2 separate regions of the Homo sapiens genome follow, and region 1 is linked to region 2. The links are contacts of gene promoters, found by promoter capture Hi-C in blood cells and fetal thymus (Javierre and others, 2016). All regions are on one chromosome and are shown on one strand. The core of a region is centred on a gene start or on the middle of the fragment in contact, and the rest is flanking DNA. Distances in the headings are between cores, read along the strand shown.

What was found. The method cuts DNA at HindIII sites, captures the fragments that hold promoters and counts their contacts. A CHiCAGO score of 5 or more calls a contact.
Region 1: a contact is called between the fragment with the promoter of DFFA here and the fragment with the promoter of MTHFR in region 2, in 1 of 17 cell types (total CD8 T cells). The highest score is 6.8, in total CD8 T cells.

The regions. Positions count from the first base shown.
Region 1 is chr1:10,470,524-10,474,665 of GRCh38, reverse strand. It overlaps DFFA (DNA fragmentation factor subunit alpha), which reads left to right and starts at 2,137. Exons shown (of 6, transcript NM_004401.3): 1 at 2,137-2,343. The coding sequence starts at 2,208. RefSeq lists enhancers at 1-607, 2,569-2,668. The HindIII fragment of the contact is 4,411 bases long and covers 1-3,506 here.
Region 2 is chr1:11,803,793-11,808,227 of GRCh38, reverse strand. It overlaps MTHFR (methylenetetrahydrofolate reductase), which reads left to right and starts at 2,264. Exons shown (of 12, transcript NM_005957.5): 1 at 2,264-2,340. CLCN6 (chloride voltage-gated channel 6) reads right to left here and starts at 2,037. Exons shown (of 23, transcript NM_001286.5): 1 at 1,879-2,037; 2 at 1,038-1,097. The coding sequence starts at 1,965. RefSeq lists enhancers at 1,490-1,559, 2,010-2,089, 2,100-2,209, 1,407-2,392, 4,334-4,393 and 1 more and silencers at 1,740-1,789, 2,460-2,509, 2,530-2,579. The HindIII fragment of the contact is 7,586 bases long and covers 1-3,381 here.

The sequences.
Region 1 (4,142 bases), core at 888-3,387, 1.3 Mb after region 2:
GATATCGGCTCACCGCAACCTCAGCCTCCCGGTTTCAAGTGATTCTCCTGCCTCAGCCTCCCGAGTAGCTGGGATTGCAGGCATGCGCCACCATGCCCGGCTAACATTGTATTTTTAGTAGAGATGGAGTTTCTCCATGTTGGTCAGGCTGCTCTCGAACTCCCGACCTCAGGTGATCTGCCCGCCTCGGCCTCCCAAAGTGTTGGGATTACAGAAGTGAGCCACAGCGCCCGGCCCATATTATTCTTATTGAGTTAATCTCTGCCCATCCCCACAGTGCCATGGGCACATTTAGGGACTTGCCAATGGATGAATGCGAAGAAACTTGGAAATTAATTTTTAGACATCAGTTCAGTTCCATTCATTGAGTGCCTACTATATGCTAGGGACTTTGGTAGGCCTTGAAATAAAAACATTCAAGACTCAATCCCTACTCCCACGCCCAGGCCAAACACACTTACAATTACAGTATTATGGGGATAGGACTCGGATAAGTGTGCAGGTCTATTGGGAGAACATAAAAGGGGGCATTTTGAAGAGAAGAGGCTTCTACAAAACGTCATTATTTTACACTGGTTGAATTGTTAGATTTTTTTAATTGTTAGATTTTAAATTAAATATTGGACGGGAGCAGTGGCTCACACCTGTAATCCCAACACTTTAGGAGGCCAAGGCAGGAGGATCCCTTGAGCCCAGGAGGTTGAGGCTGCAGTGAACTATGATTATGCCACTGCACTCCAGCCTGGGCGACAGAGCGAGACCTTGTCTAAAAATAAGATAAGAAAATAAAAAATGAAATTATATGAAAAAGGATACATACATTAGAGTTAACCGCCAGCTCCTATTATAGTTGTGTTTTGATCAATATAGACTGCTTAAAAGGGATGACTTAATGAATAATTCCTCCTACTAAACGCTGTTTTAAATGTCTAAACTTTTCTTGAGATAATATCCAATTTCCTCTCCCACGTTTTTTTTGTTTGTTTTTGCTTTTGTTTTTGTTTTTGCTTGAGACGAAGTCTTGCTCCTGACGCCCAGGCTGGAGTGCAATGGTGCGATCTGGGCCGACTGCAACCTCCGCCTCCCGGGTTCAAGCGATTCACCTGCCTCAGCCTCCCAAGAGCTGGGACTACAGGCGTGCGCCATCACGCCCGGCTAATTTTTGTATTTTTAGTAGAGATAGGGTTTCACCATGCTGGCCAGGCTGGTCTCAAACTACTGACCTCAGATCATCTGTCCGCCTCGGCCTCCTAAAGTGCTGAGATTACAGGGGTGAGCCACCGCCCCCGGGGCCCTTGCCCACGTTTTTATAAACAAAATATGAGGTGGGAGGATTGCTTGAGCCCAGGAGATCAAAACTGCAGTGAGCCATCATCGCGCCACTGCACTCCAGCCTGGGAGACAGAGCGAAACGCTGTCTCAAAAAAAGAAAAAAGAAACAAGGAAGGAAAGTGTCCCCCGAATGAATAAATATGAGCAGATAATTACTTCTAGTTTACATAAAATGCCCTCTTTTAAGAGAGGAACTTTTTGATCATTTTTATTACTATTCTTTTAATCTTAGATGTTTATTTTTCAGGAGGAAAAAAACAAACTTTTCCATAGTAGCAGTATTAAAACAAAGATGAATATGTTGTCAAGAGGCATCTGAACAATCTCCAACAGTGCCGAGTCGCATTTCCCCTTTCCTCTCCGATGCATTTGAGACTTTAATGCTTACTATATTTATTTAAGCGTTTTGTTCTGAGACCCCAAACTAATTTGCACAGTTGAAGCAGGAAATAGAATGGGTGGAAACATGCGGGTGTCTGTATTAGCATTATGCATCTCATATGCGAATAGGAATGCTCTAAAAATTCAATACAGTATACATGCGTGTGCATCGTCATGCAAAATAAGTCTCTATTGGCCTTATATTTGAACGCGCGAATGCAGCTCCTAAAAGTTAAAAACAACTCCTAGGCTGAATCGCGCGATAGAACGAAAGCGGCTTTAAACCCAGAGACTACAGTTTCCGGCATGCTTCGACGCCACACGTGATTAGCGGCAACTAGAACTACATTTCCCGGCGTGCCCTGGTCTCACGTGTGATTTGCTGCGGAACGAACTACATCTCCCGGCAGGCTGCGGAAGGGGGTCGAGTAGAAGGACCGCCGCTCCGGCCTCCCGCGACTTCTCGAAGGTGGGCAGGTCCCACCTTGTGGAGGATGGAGGTGACCGGGGACGCCGGGGTACCAGAATCTGGCGAGATCCGGACTCTAAAGCCGTGTCTGCTGCGCCGCAACTACAGCCGCGAACAGCACGGCGTGGCCGCCTCCTGCCTCGAAGACCTGAGGAGCAAGGGTTGGCTCGGGACCCCGGGCGAGGGTGTGGGGGAGCCAGGGCCGGGTGAGGACGTCCGGCGGGGGCGAGGCGGGGTCAGGAGAGGCGACTTGGGGATTCTTGTATCTCGGGTGGAGGCTTGGGACAGAAACGGTCCGAGTGGGCATAGCGATTTACAGATTTAAGGCGCTTGAGCGTAATTAATCTCGTGTGAGACTCCACGGTGGTGGGAAGACAGCCAGGAAGCAATGTGCAAATTAAGCCAGACTCGGCTTAGGTCTCTTGCCTGAAATCACTTCGATGTTGGACCAAACGGACCCCACTGGGTTCCTGCCACTCCGCCACACTCAGATGGTACAAGAACCCCCAGCTGAGCCCACGGCGGTGTGGGGAGGGGTTTCCACCGTCCGCTCTGGCAGGAACCTATGCAGGAAAGAGGGAGCTGCTACTGACCATTTCTGGAGGTCCAGACAAGGAACGTGAGTTGTAAGTGACGGAGCCGACGGAAGTTCCGAGCCCGGCCCCATACCTTTACCAGCTGCTTGGCCTTGCACTTAACCAGCTCTCAACCCTCAGTTTTCTCATCAGCAAATTGGGTATAATATTTATAGCCCTGCTTCAAAGGGTTGTTGGTTCTCTCAAATAAGATGATATATTTAAGTGACTTACAAGTCTTATTAGCCAGTAGCAACAAATCGCTTACCCAAAGAAGTTTTACAGGTTACATGTGTGAGCCAGCCCCAGGCATGTAGTCACAGTGTGTGTCAGAGGGCACAGTTGCTTCCTCTCAGTCACCAACAGAAATCATATGGAAATTTTCAGAGACCCATGAACAGCCAAAGCATTATAAATGCTTTGGTAACATGGATTTTGCATATAAGCATTTATGTATTTTTTTTCCTGACATTAGATTACTTTACTTCTAATTCCCCTTCAGTGCCGTGGCTGGATGTGCGTGGCACAGAGGCTGGTGTTCTCTGCAGTCCAGCGCATACATGCCTTGCTGTTCTATTGGGTGGTAGACAACACCGCTGAAGGATATTTGTAGTCTCTTGGCTATTTCTGATCACTCCAGTCCCGTTAGTATTTGAAGCATTGCTATCACTAAATGGAATAGTACAGACCTGTCCTGGAGAAAGCCTCTCCGCCAATGATAATGATATGAAAAGCTACTGATAGAAGCTTCCACTTCTTTTATACTTTCCCATAGGTTAGAAAAGAAGCTGCTAAGGAAGATACTGTAAAGAACAAAAAGCATTTTCTTTTTTTTTTTTTTTTTTTGAGACGGAGTGTCACTCTGTCACCCAGGCTGGAGTGCAGTGGCGCTATCTCGGCTCACTGCAAGCTCCGCCTCCCGGGTTCACTCCATTCTCCTGCTTCAGCCTCCCGAGTAGCTGGGACTACAGGCGCCCACCACCACGCCCATCTAATTTTTTGTATTTTTTAGCAGAGACGGTTTTTCACCATGTTAGCCAGGATGGTCTCGATTGCCTGCTTTGTGATCCACCCGCCTCGGCCTCCCAAAGTGCTGGGATTACAGACGTGAGCCACCGTGCCTGGCCTTTTTGGTGTATTTTTTGACATTTTTACACATAGGAGAATTTAAGAGGACACCTGAGGGCCGGGTCCGGTGGCTCACACCTGTAATCCCAGCACTTTGGGAGGCCGAGGTGGGCGGATCACGAGGTCAGGAGATCGAGACCATCCTGGCTAACACGGTGAAACCCCGTCTCTACTAAAAATACAAAAAAATTAGCCGGGCGTGGTGGTGGGCGCCTGTAATCCCAGCTACTCCGGAGGCTGAAGCAGGAGAATGGCGT
Region 2 (4,435 bases), core at 1,015-3,514:
AACACACACACACATACAATAAAAAATAATAATATGAGAAAGGAGAAGTGGATAACGAAAGCACAGACAAAAGAAGACTGGGCTTGAGCTAAATCACTGTGGAAGCTGTGTGATGAGGACAAGGGGTTTCAACAGATTATTCTGTTTTTGCATATAGTTGAAATCCTTCATAATAAAAGTTAAACAAAAAAGTGCTACAAATCCTAACGCTGACACTAAATTCTACAGCATGAAGAATTTATGGAAGAGTGAGACTCTGTCAAAAAAAAGAAAAGGTTGTGGAAAATTACCTAATGATACAAAAAGTATAATAAAGGGGGTGAGTGGGACAGGTTAAAATAGATGATTTAGTGGAATCTCATTTTTGTTACTTAAAAAAAGCATGTATCATGTATATAAAAGCATGGGTAAGGATGTAGAAAGATACTTAGTAAGGTGTTAACAGTCATCTTTTAATGAATGGAGTTATAGGCTTTTCTCTACCTTCTTTATTACGTTTAAGAATTTAATGATAAAAAGTCACGCATGTTGTTTCACCCCAGCAGTGTTGGCTTTACTAAAAACACATACTCTAAGAATCCCATACATGAAAGGTGGAACTTAATCAAGAACATGTCAGAGAGAAGCTGCTTGAGCAAGAAAATATCTGAAAAGCAAGCTCTCCTAGAAGAGAAGCAAGGCCTCCTTAACAGTTTATAAGCACACACCTGTTAGGGGCACATACTGCCTGCCAGTGCCTTTCACTCTAAGTCTCTCTGTAAGCTGTAAAAGCAAACAGTTTAATGGCAAATACATACTCTATCCAGGTTAAGGTGCCACAGATTTATAAACGTGTAAAAACACCAGACCTTGTTTTGGGGTTAAGGTGAGAAAAGGGCTTGCTAAACAGTCTCTTTCCTAGAAGGAAGTTCTCTTACCCACTCACTCCCTGGGACAGAAGGTCAAAGAGCATCTCTGGTTGGAATCATAATGCTTCGGCCTGAAGTGACCAGGCCACTCACTACTTTAGTTGCCCAAGCAGTATCAAAGGAGCTCACCTCATAGTCTTTCCTTGGAAGAATCTCATCCTCCTCCTCCTGTGTTTCTCCAAGGATGGTCTAGAAAAACAGATCCGCAGAGGGAGCCTTTTTTAGTGGTTAGGAGTGGAAGGAGGCAGAAGTATTTACTGAAATCAGTGGCTAGCTTCTAAATCATCTGGAGCCATTATCAAATAGGAACCAGCCCTCAAAAAAAACCTTTCAGGGGTGAGGGACCATGTGGGTGAGGATCTACAGCCATCAGCTGAGCTCTTCATTTCCACTGATAGTCTCCAAATAACCACCCTCCTCTTCAGGACACCTCAAAGATGTCCAACGCCAGCTGAAAAGGGGGGTAAAAATGCAGGTTCCATTTGACAGTGTGACGTATCTGAAATCAGAAAGGACTTGTCAACTCTGGGAACACAACTCAAGTTTTCCCAGGATGCTTTGCAGGGGGAAGCTGGACTGTCAGTGACCCAGAAAGGGTGAGGGATAGAGTGAGAAAGGACTGGAGAAGCTAAAACAGCAGCATGATAAGCACAAAGTCCTGTGAGGAAGCTCATTCTGAAAACGCTTGTTTCATTCCAAACTCTTTTCAGATGGAAATAAAAGGAAACATGGGTGGGATTTACTGGAGCTGGCCTGGATTCTCCCTCAGATTCCAGGAGGGGTTATGAGAAAAGACCCCAGACTTAGGCACGTGAAGCAGGGTAGACGCTTCGAGAGCCCTGGCTGCGGTCCCCAGGCCCCACCCGCTGCCACCTGCGGGCCCAGATTGGCCCGGCCCCACCCCCGGCAACGCCTCTCTCAGTCCCTTAGCAACCGCCCCCTCCCCAGGCCGACTCCGCCGGCTTCTTACCAGCTCCTCGGGGGTGCGGGTCTCACGCTCACCGCAGCAGCAGCACCACCTGCAGCAGCAGCACAGAGACCCCCTGCACCCCGCCATCTTCCTCCTTTACTGCCACTCTGGACCCCTCTACCAACCCCCTCCCAGCCAGGATCTGCGCCTCACGTGACTGGCCCCGGGACGGTCACGTGGCCCTCTCGAGCTCTGGGACTGAGACCAGGAGTGGCTGCAGACGGGTGGGGCGAGGACTCGCGTCACATGACGATAAAGGCACGGCCTCCAACGAGACCTGTGGGCACGGCCATGTTGGGGGCGGGGCTTCCGGTCACCCGCGCCGGTGGTTTCCGCCCTGTAGGCCCGCCTCTCCAGCAACCTGACACCTGCGCCGCGCCCCTTCACTGCGTTCCCCGCCCCTGCAGCGGCCACAGTGGTGCGGCCGGCGGCCGAGCGTTCTGAGTCACCCGGGACTGGAGGGTGAGTGACGGCGAGGCCGGGGTCGCCGGGAGGGAGATCCTGGAGCCGGCAAACAACCTCCCGGGGGCAAGGACGTGCTTGTGGGCGGGGAGCGCTGGAGGCCGGCCTGCCTCTCTTCTTGGGGGGGGCTGCCGCCTCCCTTGCGCACCCTTCGCGGGATTAGTGTAACTCCCAATGGCTACCACTTCCAGCGACCGCCAACCCTCAAGCGAAGACTGACTTTGGCTCCCTGCCTGGACGGAGGGGCCCCTGAGCCAGGGGTGACGATCCCGCCCCTCTGACCGGCCCAGGCCCGTGTCCTCGCCCCCATCGGTGACTCAGTGACCTGGTGACTGGATTCTCGGCCACCTGGGCGCCGAGACGGCTTCCGGCTCCTGCCTTTTAAACCTGCCTCCCCGGCGATCACCTGGAGAAGAGCGCTGGGCCCGGGGCACTGCGGTCCCTGGCGCCCACTGCGTCCCGCTGCGCACGGGGGTCCGCCGGGACCTTTCTGGGAGTCGTAGGCTTAGTATCCCAGTGCTTGGCGCAGACTAGTTGTTCAGTAAGTGGCAGAGGCTTATTTTGAGAGAGTGGCAGCACCTGGCCCTTTGGCGCTCAGTGAATGTTGGCTATCACCGTGTGCCAAACTCTGGGGATACCCCAGGCAGGACACCGGTCCTGTCTCAGGGAACTGGGGAAAGAGAAAGGAGACAGGCCTTTTCACCCACAGTTACAACCCAGGGTGCTATGGGAGTCCAGCTGATAACGGATAAATCGTGGGAGTTGGCTTACAAATATGGCACATGCGTGGCATATACTAGGAATGCAATAAGTCTTTGAAAATCAGAGGGTTTACAGGTGGTTCAGCTTCCTCCTACTCTAGGTTCTGTTCCAGCAAGCAATTAACGAGGTGCGCCCTTAAACGCTGGAGGAAAGCCAACTGGCTGCTCTTGCTGTTACTCCTCCCCCCCGCCCCCGTTCCTCACTCCCCACAGCCATCCCCACTGAGAATCTGGAGTTTGAGGTCAGAATGAAAGAGAGCAGCCCTAGAGGGAGAAAGCTTTGGCCCAGGGTTCTTAGTCTGGAATCAACTCCTTGTCTTTGGATGTATCCCCGTGTAGTCTGTGCACCTGTGTGTGTATTTCAGGGGAAGGGAGCAGTGCATTTAATCAGATTGTCAAAAGAGTCTAAGACCCCAAATGGTTAGGTACACAGGGTTAGTGGTGGACAGTCTGAAAGAAATGAACCTCACCTGGGCTTTCCTCTGTTGTGCCATGTCACCACACACCCATTCACTACTGTGTGTTTGCCCATTGCTGTGCAAGTGTTTTGTTTGTTTTTAAGTGTTTGTCTTATTTTCTTAACCAGACTGCCAGATGACCCTATGCCCTCTGTTGGCCTGTCTGTGCCCTGGTGGCTCTGATTACTTGTTTCTGTTTTTTGTTTTTGTTTTTTTTTTTGAGATGGAGTTTTGCTTTTGTCGCCCAGGCTGGAGTGCTATGGCACAATCTTGGTTCACTGCAACCTCTGCCTTCCGGGTTCAAGCGATTCTCCTGCCTCAGCCTCCAGAGTAGCTGGGATTACAGGCGCCCGCCACCAAACCTGGCTAATTTTTATATTTTTAGTAGAGTCGGGATTTCACCATGTTGGCCAGGCTGGTCTCAAACTCCTGGCCTCAGGTGATCCACCCACCTCGGCCTCCCAAAGTGCTGGGATTACAGGTGTGTTTTTTGTTTTTTTAAGAGATGGAGTCTCGCTATGTTGCCCAGGCTGGCCTTGAACTCCTGGGCTCAGGCAATCCTTCTGCCTCAGCCTTCCCAGTAGCTGGGTCACTGTGATGATTTGAATTGAATTCTGTGATGTGTAAGAAGAGCAGCCTGCAAGGCAAGCACAGATGGGGCAGCTTTTGTTCTGAGAAATTCGTGCCCTTACTGAACTTGGGTCTGGCTATTTTTGGAACATGGCCAGCATCAAGTTCTAACCCACAACACGGTCTTTTTGGAGTAGCATGAATTCAGGAGAAATCTGGCTGCATAGTCAAGCCCTCACCCCTTCCATCCTGTGCACGAACTGTTTCAAGTAACAGATGTTCCAGGCAGAGCCAGCCAGAGTGAGC